3 separate regions of the Homo sapiens genome follow, and regions 2 and 3 are each linked to region 1. Evidence: promoter capture Hi-C in 16 types of primary human blood cells and fetal thymus (Javierre and others, 2016). All regions are on one chromosome and are shown on one strand. Each heading gives the region's core, a stretch centred on a gene start or on the middle of the fragment in contact. The rest is flanking DNA. Distances are from core to core; before and after follow the strand shown.

Region 1 (2,893 bases), core at 190-2,689:
GGAGGAGGAGAAAAGTGTTGAAATAATTCCAACTAAGACTGATATCTAGGAATTACCCTGGTGAAGTGGGAAGCTTAAGAGTCCTGTTGGAGGGACTGGTGTGGTAATGGCTCTGCCAAAAGTGTTATGTGCGTGCAAACCCAAAGAGAGAAAGCACAGAAAACCTTTCAACATCAACCTGCTTGAGGAAAAATAAAGTGGGAAAAGATACATACTCACAGTGAGGACTCTAGACATGTCAAGACAATTTTTAAATATGCTTTTGGCTTCGAGTGGCAATAACTAGATTCAAGACAGCATATTTAAGAAGCTGCTGATGAGAAGAAACCCGGGAAGAGCTGAAGGACCACATCAGCCCAGACCAAGGATGCTGAAGCAGCATTAAGGTCCCTGGTTTCAGATGCTCAGGCAATGACCCTTTTTTTCATGGAGAGCCTGTAGGAGTGACAGTTTTGTCTTTGCCCACTGGGAATCTGTTTTCCATACCTGGAAAACAGGGTTACCTATGTTTCCCCTGCTACCCTTTGGTCATCTCAGAGACACTACCAGATATTACCCATGGGACCTATTTTTTTTTTAAATCTCAGGAAAGACTTGGGTGTGGCTTCCAACGTGGAGGACTCAGTAGCTTCAGAGAGGGTCCTGAGAGAAGGTGAATTGAAGAATGAGGGTGCTGGGCAGAGGGAAAAGACATTATCATACAAGTTTGTGCTAAAAGATATAGCAATCCTTCTGCTATGGACTAAGTATGGAAAAAAATAAAATGGAATCAAAGTTACCCAAAGGAAGTGTAAAACCCAAATTTATGCCCGTTAAAGCATTAATGATGCTCTAAGTCCACTGCCTACTTAAAAAGTTCATAGTTCACATGGGTTGATAGGAAATTACGTTAACGACACACTGCATTTCCCCTTTTCTTATAGCCTATCTGATTTGGTAGGGAGTCGATCATTTTTTATTGGAATTTCTCAGGATTCCAACCTCAGACATCCACTTTACAGTTTACACATTTTCTTGGACAAGCCCGACTGTTCCTCTCACTGGTTCGCATAAAGCTCATGTTTACAAAGCCGCCCAGACCTTTCTCTGGGACTCTCATATTTAACTTAATTCTGGATATACCCAGGTAAGCGTTTCCCAAGAAACTTGACCCCAACATCCCAAAAACTTAAGGTATCTTTCCCTTAAACTGGCCCCTTCTCCAGTACGCATCCATCTCACTTCTCTCCTGCCCTAGATCTTCTCAGCCCAAACAGGAAACCCCGGGATCGCTCTCCCAGCAGGTGAAGCCTCGCCATGGACCCTCCCCGTCGGGGCCCCGCGCTGCCCCGCCCGCCCCCAGCCGCTGGCCAAGGCCGCGGTCGCGCAGGCGCAGTGCCGCGTCCCGCCGCCGCCCCGCCCTGCCCGTCGCTGCGGAAGGCGCCGCGCGCAGCAACGCGCACTTCCTCTCCAGGAATCCGCGGAGGGAGCGCAGGCTCGAAGAGCTCCTGGACGCAGAGGCCCTGCCCTTGCCAGACGGCGCAGACATGTCAGAACAAAGTAAGGATCTGAGCGACCCTAACTTTGCAGCCGAGGCCCCCAACTCCGAGGTGCACAGCAGCCCTGGGGTTTCGGAGGGGGTTCCTCCGTCCGCGACCCTGGCAGAGCCGCAGAGCCCTCCTCTAGGCCCGACGGCCGCTCCGCAGGCCGCGCCGCCTCCCCAGGCCCCGAACGACGAGGGCGACCCGAAGGCCCTGCAGCAGGCTGCGGAGGAGGGCCGCGCCCACCAGGCCCCGAGCGCGGCCCAGCCGGGCCCGGCACCGCCAGCCCCGGCGCAGCTGGTGCAGAAGGCGCACGAGCTCATGTGGTACGTGCTGGTCAAGGACCAGAAGAAGATGATCATCTGGTTTCCAGACATGGTGAAAGATGTCATCGGCAGCTACAAGAAGTGGTGCAGGAGCATCCTCCGGCGCACCAGCCTCATCCTCGCCCGGGTGTTCGGGCTGCACCTGAGGCTAACCAGCCTGCACACCATGGAGTTTGCGCTGGTCAAAGCGCTGGAGCCCGAGGAGCTGGACAGGGTGGCGCTGAGCAACCGCATGCCCATGACAGGCCTCCTGCTCATGATCCTGAGCCTCATCTACGTGAAGGGCCGCGGCGCCAGAGAGAGCGCCGTCTGGAACGTGCTGCGCATCCTGGGGCTGCGGCCCTGGAAGAAGCACTCCACCTTCGGGGACGTGCGGAAGCTCATCACTGAGGAGTTCGTCCAAATGAATTACCTGAAGTACCAGCGCGTCCCATACGTGGAGCCGCCCGAATACGAGTTCTTTTGGGGCTCCCGGGCCAGCCGCGAAATCACCAAGATGCAAATCATGGAGTTCCTGGCCAGGGTCTTTAAGAAAGACCCCCAGGCCTGGCCCTCCCGATACAGAGAAGCTCTGGAGGAGGCCAGAGCTCTGCGGGAGGCTAATCCCACTGCCCACTACCCTCGCAGCAGTGTCTCTGAGGACTAGCAAAGTCTGGAGGCAGATGAATGGTTTCTGACCCTCACCAGGGCTGTGGAAGGGTGGGGGTGGGTCATTATAGTATTCAGGATTTACAGTGCAGTATTCACGTGTAACTTTTAAGTTTTCAGTACAGTGCTTTTATACCTTTAATGCAATGTTGTATTCATTTGGGTACTATTGTGTAGTATTTAGGATGTATGCATGTTTGTTTATATGTAAGCTTGGTTGGTGCTTTCGCTTTTGTGCTACCTTTCTTGGATTTTTGTACCAGAGATGTGCTAAACTGATGAAATACATTGAGAAAGTTTCCATCTTATTCTTTTATATGGGACTGATGATGTGTGTTGGGGTAGACTGCTCCTGCAGAGTTTGGAAGAAGTCACCAGCAAAGCCGGCCTAACCAAGAA
Region 2 (2,878 bases), core at 18-2,517, 1.1 Mb before region 1:
TTAATCTAAAAATGAAAGTCAGAGGCTGGTCGGGGTGGCCCACACCTGTAATCACAGCACTTTGGGAGGCTAATTCGGGCAGATTGTTTGAGGTCTGGAGTTCGGCACCAGCCTGGCCAATATGGTGAAACCTTGTTTCTACTAAAAATACAAAACTTAGCTGGGCATGGTGGCAGGCGCCTATAATCCCAGCTCTTCGGGAGGCTGAGGCAGTAGAATCAGTTGAACCTGGGAGACGGAGGTTGCAGTGAGCCGAGATTACACCATTGCACTCCAGTCTGGGTGACAAGAGTGAGACTTCATCTCAAAAAAAAAAATAATGAAAGTCAGAAAACTGTTCCTATGTAAAAAGCTTCAAAGTGGAGATATACTTAGGAATAATTTAATGAAATCTGTGTAAAATATGTACATTGAAAACTATAAAATGTATTGAAAGATACTGAAGATGTCCTAAAAAATGTAAAAATAAAAATCCCATGATCAATGATTAGAAAACTTAATACTGTGATGATGACAATACTTCCCAAATGGATTTATGGATTTAATACAATCCATAGTAAAATACTGCTTCTTTAAAAAATGCAGTTATTGGCAAGCTACTTCTAAATTTCATATGAAAATGCAATTGCTCCGGAATAGCCAAAACTAACCCAAAAGAATACAGTTGGAGTACTTGACTCATAGTTCTTGACTTCAAAACTTATTACAAACTGATAGTAATCAAGACATTGTGGTACTGGTATAAGTTTAGCCATATGTGTTATTGGATAGAACTGAGGGTCCACAAAATTACCTTTATATTTATGGTTTAAATGATTTTAAAGATTGTGAAAGCATATCAATATGGAAAAATGTTTCTTCCAATAAACGTTGCTGGCAGAAGTGGATATCCACTTGCAGGCTGGATTCCTCCCTCACATCATATAAACAATTGGCTTAAAGTGGATCATAGGCCTAAATGTAAGAGTTAAAATGACAAAATCTATGAAAGTGAATGTATGAATTAGTCTTCACAGCCTTAGGTTAAACAATAGAGTCTAAGATATTTCATCAAAATACAAGTAACAAGCAAAAAAAAAAAAAAACAAAACCCATACATTGAACATCATCAAAACTTAAAACTTTCATTATTCAAAGTACACAATCGAGATAACCCAAACAATGGGAAAAAATGTTTGCAAATCATACACTTGATAGGGGTCTATTAGCCACAATATGTAAAATGCTCTTACAACTAAAAAATAAAAAGAAAAATATCCTAATAAATAAGGGGCAAAATTTTTGTGTGACTAGACATCTTCCCAAAGAAGTTATACAAATGTACAATGCTCAACAAATTTAGTCCTTAGTAAAACACAGATCAAATTCATTGTGTGATACACTTCACTGCTTCACTAATCTTAAAGGCATATTTATAAGAAAATGAAGGTAGTTTGCATCACTATGTACTGTTCAATATAATTTATATGACATTGCGGAAAGTTGAAATTATACTAAAATGATTAGAGGCTACTAGGAACTTGTGAGAGGAAGGTTGGAAAGGAAAATTACAGATTTCTTTCCAGCAGTGAAATTTTTCTCTATGCTACGAAAATGGTCAGTTAATGCTACTATTTGTAAAATTCTACAGAACTTTATATCACAAAGAGTGAATAAAAATGTATACAAATTAAAACATTATTGAAAGGGGCCATTCCATTGAGAAACACAGGTAAAATAATATACTTACACATTTTAATTTATAAAGTCCTTTCCTATGGGAGTATGAATGACCAACTCTGATACCAGTCTGCATATATTTTGGGACTCAACGTTTTCATAAAGGGGGCCAGTTTTCTCATTGTTAGAATGAGAGGTTATATGCAAGTAGTAAAAATAAGTAGATTCATTCATGTGGTACTGGATTAGAATTGGAGACATTAGTGGGAATACAGGTTTAAATTTATATAGATATACATAGACAAATGTAGATATATTTTTACATATGTGTTTTTGTGGAGTTAATATGCAGATATATTCCTGTCAGCTGGCAAAGCCCAGAATCAACAGATCACCTAGTAGCAATGAGTGCACCCACTGCCCAGATCATTGTTTCTAATACTAGACACCAATAAAAATAAAAACTCCTTGAAGAAATTACGAACATTAGGCTTGGGTAGGGAATCAAAACAATTAAGCTTGAACACTTTATAGTGCCAGAAAGTAATAAAATGCTAAACAATAACACAACCAACAAAGCAGTCAAACAAACAAACAAACAAACAAAAAACAAAATCAAACTGCAACAACGTAGATATATCAAAATGGTATAGGAATCATCTGAAAGACCTTACATGGCAAACTCTAAAACAATTTGAGGAACAAAATCAATAAACTAGTAATTATAGTGTGAAGTAAATATTTGTGATTTCATATATTTTATATGATATATTAAATGATGAATATAAATAATGCATGGAGCAGAATAGAGAAATTGTCCATGGTAAAGAAACATAAATGGCATTGTAGAAGCTCTGCCTAGCAGGAGGTGGAGCATGTTTTTCCAATTCTTAAATATGTGCTGGGCACAGTGACTTCTTTTTAAAAAGGTCAACATGGAAAGGGGAACAAAAATTACCTTACAATATAAAGAACTAAGATTCTTTGAAGAAATGGTGATCCCTGACCTAAATTATCTCATGGAAATTATCAAGTTAATGTCAACAGTAATAAGCATGTTGATAGTGTGTACCCTTGATATGATGTGATGAGATGGCATATTCTGTCTGTAATCTTCTTCCCTAAAACTGACAACTCCAGTCAAAACATTAGAAAAACATCAGTGAAATCCCACATGAGGGATGTCAATGACCTCAAAAGCAAGAAAGATCTAAGAAAC
Region 3 (2,700 bases), core at 31-2,530, 1.2 Mb before region 1:
TAAAAATTAGTGGGCCGGGCACGGTGGCTCAGGCCTGTAATCCCAGCACTTTGGGAGGCCGAGGCGGGCGGATCACAAGGTCAGGAGATCGAGACCATCCTGCCTAACACAGTGAAACTCCATTTCTACTAAAAATTCAAAAAATTAGCCGGGTGTGGTTGCGGGCGCTACCGCTACTCGGGAGGCTGAGGCCAGAGAATGGCGTGAACCTGGGAGGCAGAGCTTGCAGTGAGCCGAGATCGCGCCACTGCACTCCAGCCTGGGCAAGAGTGCGAGACTCTGTCTCAAAAAAAAAAAAAATTAGCTGGGCATGGTGGTATGCACCTATGGTCCCAGCCACTGGGGAGGCTGAGATGGGAGGATCGCTTGGAGATTGAGGCTGTAGTGATCGCACAACTGCACAACAGAGTGAGATCCTGTCTTTTAATTAAACAACAACAATAATAAATTTATAAAAAAGAAAAGGAGGACTCTATAAAAGCAGTTTTGAAAGCTTCATGGAGTAAGACACAGCAGAAATGAGAGCAGAGGAACTGGGGTGTGGAGCCAGGGAAGTGTTGGGGAGTGGTAGGGGGACGCAATCATACATTTTTCTTTTTGTAGAGATGGGGTCTTGCTTTGTTACCCAGGCTGGTCTCGAACTCCTGGCCTTGAGCGATCTTCCCATCTCAGCCTCCCAAAGTGCTGTACAAGTGTGAGCCACCATGCCTGGCCACAATCCTACTTTTGAGAATCAAAGAATTAAAAAAAAGCTTATAGCTTATTTTCCTATGATTGACATAAAACACCGGAAATGTCCTTTCTTCCAGGGGCCCTTTATAAGCTAGTAAGCAACATATATACTATGGATTTGGAGGCATCAATATTTTTCTTAAAAGAGGTTGAAATTTAGCTTTTCCTGACTCAACCCTGAATAACTTCAGTACAGCCTTCATACACAATTCTATTTAAGTCAATAGATAAAATAATCATATGATTGTGTACTTACTGTGTTCATAGTCCAATAGAGAGTTTATACTAGCTAATAGAATTTGGAGTTAAGTAGATGGAAAAATCACCACAGCTGAATCAGAGGCCAAACCTTCTGTCAGACATGCAGACATTTATCATCCCAGTTTTCACGTGGCTGGGTGTAAGGTTCTATTCTGCCAAGCATAAGCTCAACAAGACCTGGCTGTGGACAAGGGTATTCTTTTCTTTCTTCCTGCCTGCACATTTCCCAAGAGGGCTGAAGGAGTTCAGGAAATGCCACCCCTAGCCTGGGCATGGTAACTCATGCCTGTAATCCCAGCTGTTTGGGAGACAGAGATAGGAGGATCACTTGAGGTCAGGAATTGGAGACCAGCCTAGGCAACATGGTGAGACTCTGTCTCTGCAAGAAATAAAAAAAAAAAAAGTAGCCGGGCATGATGGTGCATGCCTCTGGTCCTAGCTACTTGAGAGACTGAGGCGGGAGGATCTCCACCCCAAAATATGATGCTTTGGTGTGCTGATTACTTTCAACTGAGGTTATGTGGGGAGCAGCTCATACAGGCAGAGGTTTTCTCTGAGCTTCCTTATCTAAAGACAGATTATCTAAAAGGAACTTAATTGTCATGAATCCCCTCCCCAGGAAACTCACTAACCAGGGAAGATTGGCTCCTATCACAGGAGAGGAGAGTAGACCTTGATAACACACGCAGACTTTGTCACCGGCTGTTACCTGTTCTTCTGACAGTCCATTTATCTTTCCCCCAAACTGTTTACTCTCCCCTAAGTTACCTAATCACCTATACCCTCTGTCCTAAGAAGAGGGTACATAAGCTTCTGAATCTCACTGGGTTCTGGGATATTCGCTTTTCTTTCATGTGATGTCCCTGTGTCCATATCTAATTTGTATACCTTTTCTCCCATTAATCTGACTACTGTCAATTTCTTTCAAGGACTCAATTATTGAATTCTCAGAAAGTAGAGGAAAGGTCTTCCCTCCTGTACAGGAGGAAAGACTCCTGAGTTCAGGAGCTTGAGATCAGCCAGAGCTACATGCTGAAACCTCATTTCTACTAAACTACAAAAAGCCAGGCATCCAGCCTGGGTGACAGAGTGAGACTCCATCTCAAAAAAAAAAAAAAAAAAAAAAAAATGTTTATATACACACACACACACACACACACACACACACACATACACGGCACTAAAAAGAAACAAATCCTAAATTTATCACAGTGAACTCCAGCAACTGAGAAGACCCAAGTGAGCCCTTCCCAAAACAGCCTCTCTCCTGTCACAGGTAACCACCATCCTGACTTGTCATACTGACTTCTGAATGTTACAGAGATGGGCTCAGACAAGTATGTTTTTGCCTAGATTATTTTGCTCAACTTTGTGTTTATAAAATTCATCAAGGTTTTTACATGTAGATACAGTTCATTATTTTTTATTTATAGTTGAATTCCATTGAATTCCTATACCACCATTTACTTACCCACTCTGCTTTATTTCCAGTTTTGGCTATTACAAATAATGCTGCTATAAACATTTAAATACATGTCTTTTCATCAACTGTGCATGTACTTTTCCGTGGCCTACTCCACACAGTAGAATGGATGGTGCGTGTGTAAGGTACACATGGTTTTGTAGGTAATAGCAGGTAGTTTACCAAAGTGGTTGTTATAATTAACACTGCCATGAGCAACATTTGAATTGAAGATCCATGAATTC

The links. Contacts are between HindIII fragments. The CHiCAGO score rates a contact against its expected background, and 5 or more counts as called.
Region 2: a contact is called between a fragment that was not itself captured here and the fragment with the promoter of NDN in region 1, in 1 of 17 cell types (M0 macrophages). The highest score is 5.7, in M0 macrophages.
Region 3: a contact is called between a fragment that was not itself captured here and the fragment with the promoter of NDN in region 1, in 1 of 17 cell types (erythroblasts). The highest score is 5.4, in erythroblasts.

Annotation. Positions count from the first base shown.
Region 1 is chr15:23,685,851-23,688,743 of GRCh38, reverse strand. It overlaps NDN (necdin, MAGE family member), which reads left to right and starts at 1,439. Exons shown (of 1, transcript NM_002487.3): 1 at 1,439-2,893. The coding sequence starts at 1,527. The coding sequence ends at 2,492. The HindIII fragment of the contact is 2,633 bases long and covers 76-2,708 here.
Region 2 is chr15:24,777,416-24,780,293 of GRCh38, reverse strand. No RefSeq gene overlaps it. Among named protein-coding and RNA genes, the nearest start is that of SNHG14, 45 kb to the left of the region's middle. The HindIII fragment of the contact is 1,825 bases long and covers 355-2,179 here.
Region 3 is chr15:24,923,346-24,926,045 of GRCh38, reverse strand. The region is part of intron 4 of SNHG14 (small nucleolar RNA host gene 14); the gene reads right to left. It also overlaps a transcript of SNRPN not described here. Among named protein-coding and RNA genes, the nearest start is that of SNRPN, 30 kb to the left of the region's middle. The HindIII fragment of the contact is 1,051 bases long and covers 755-1,805 here.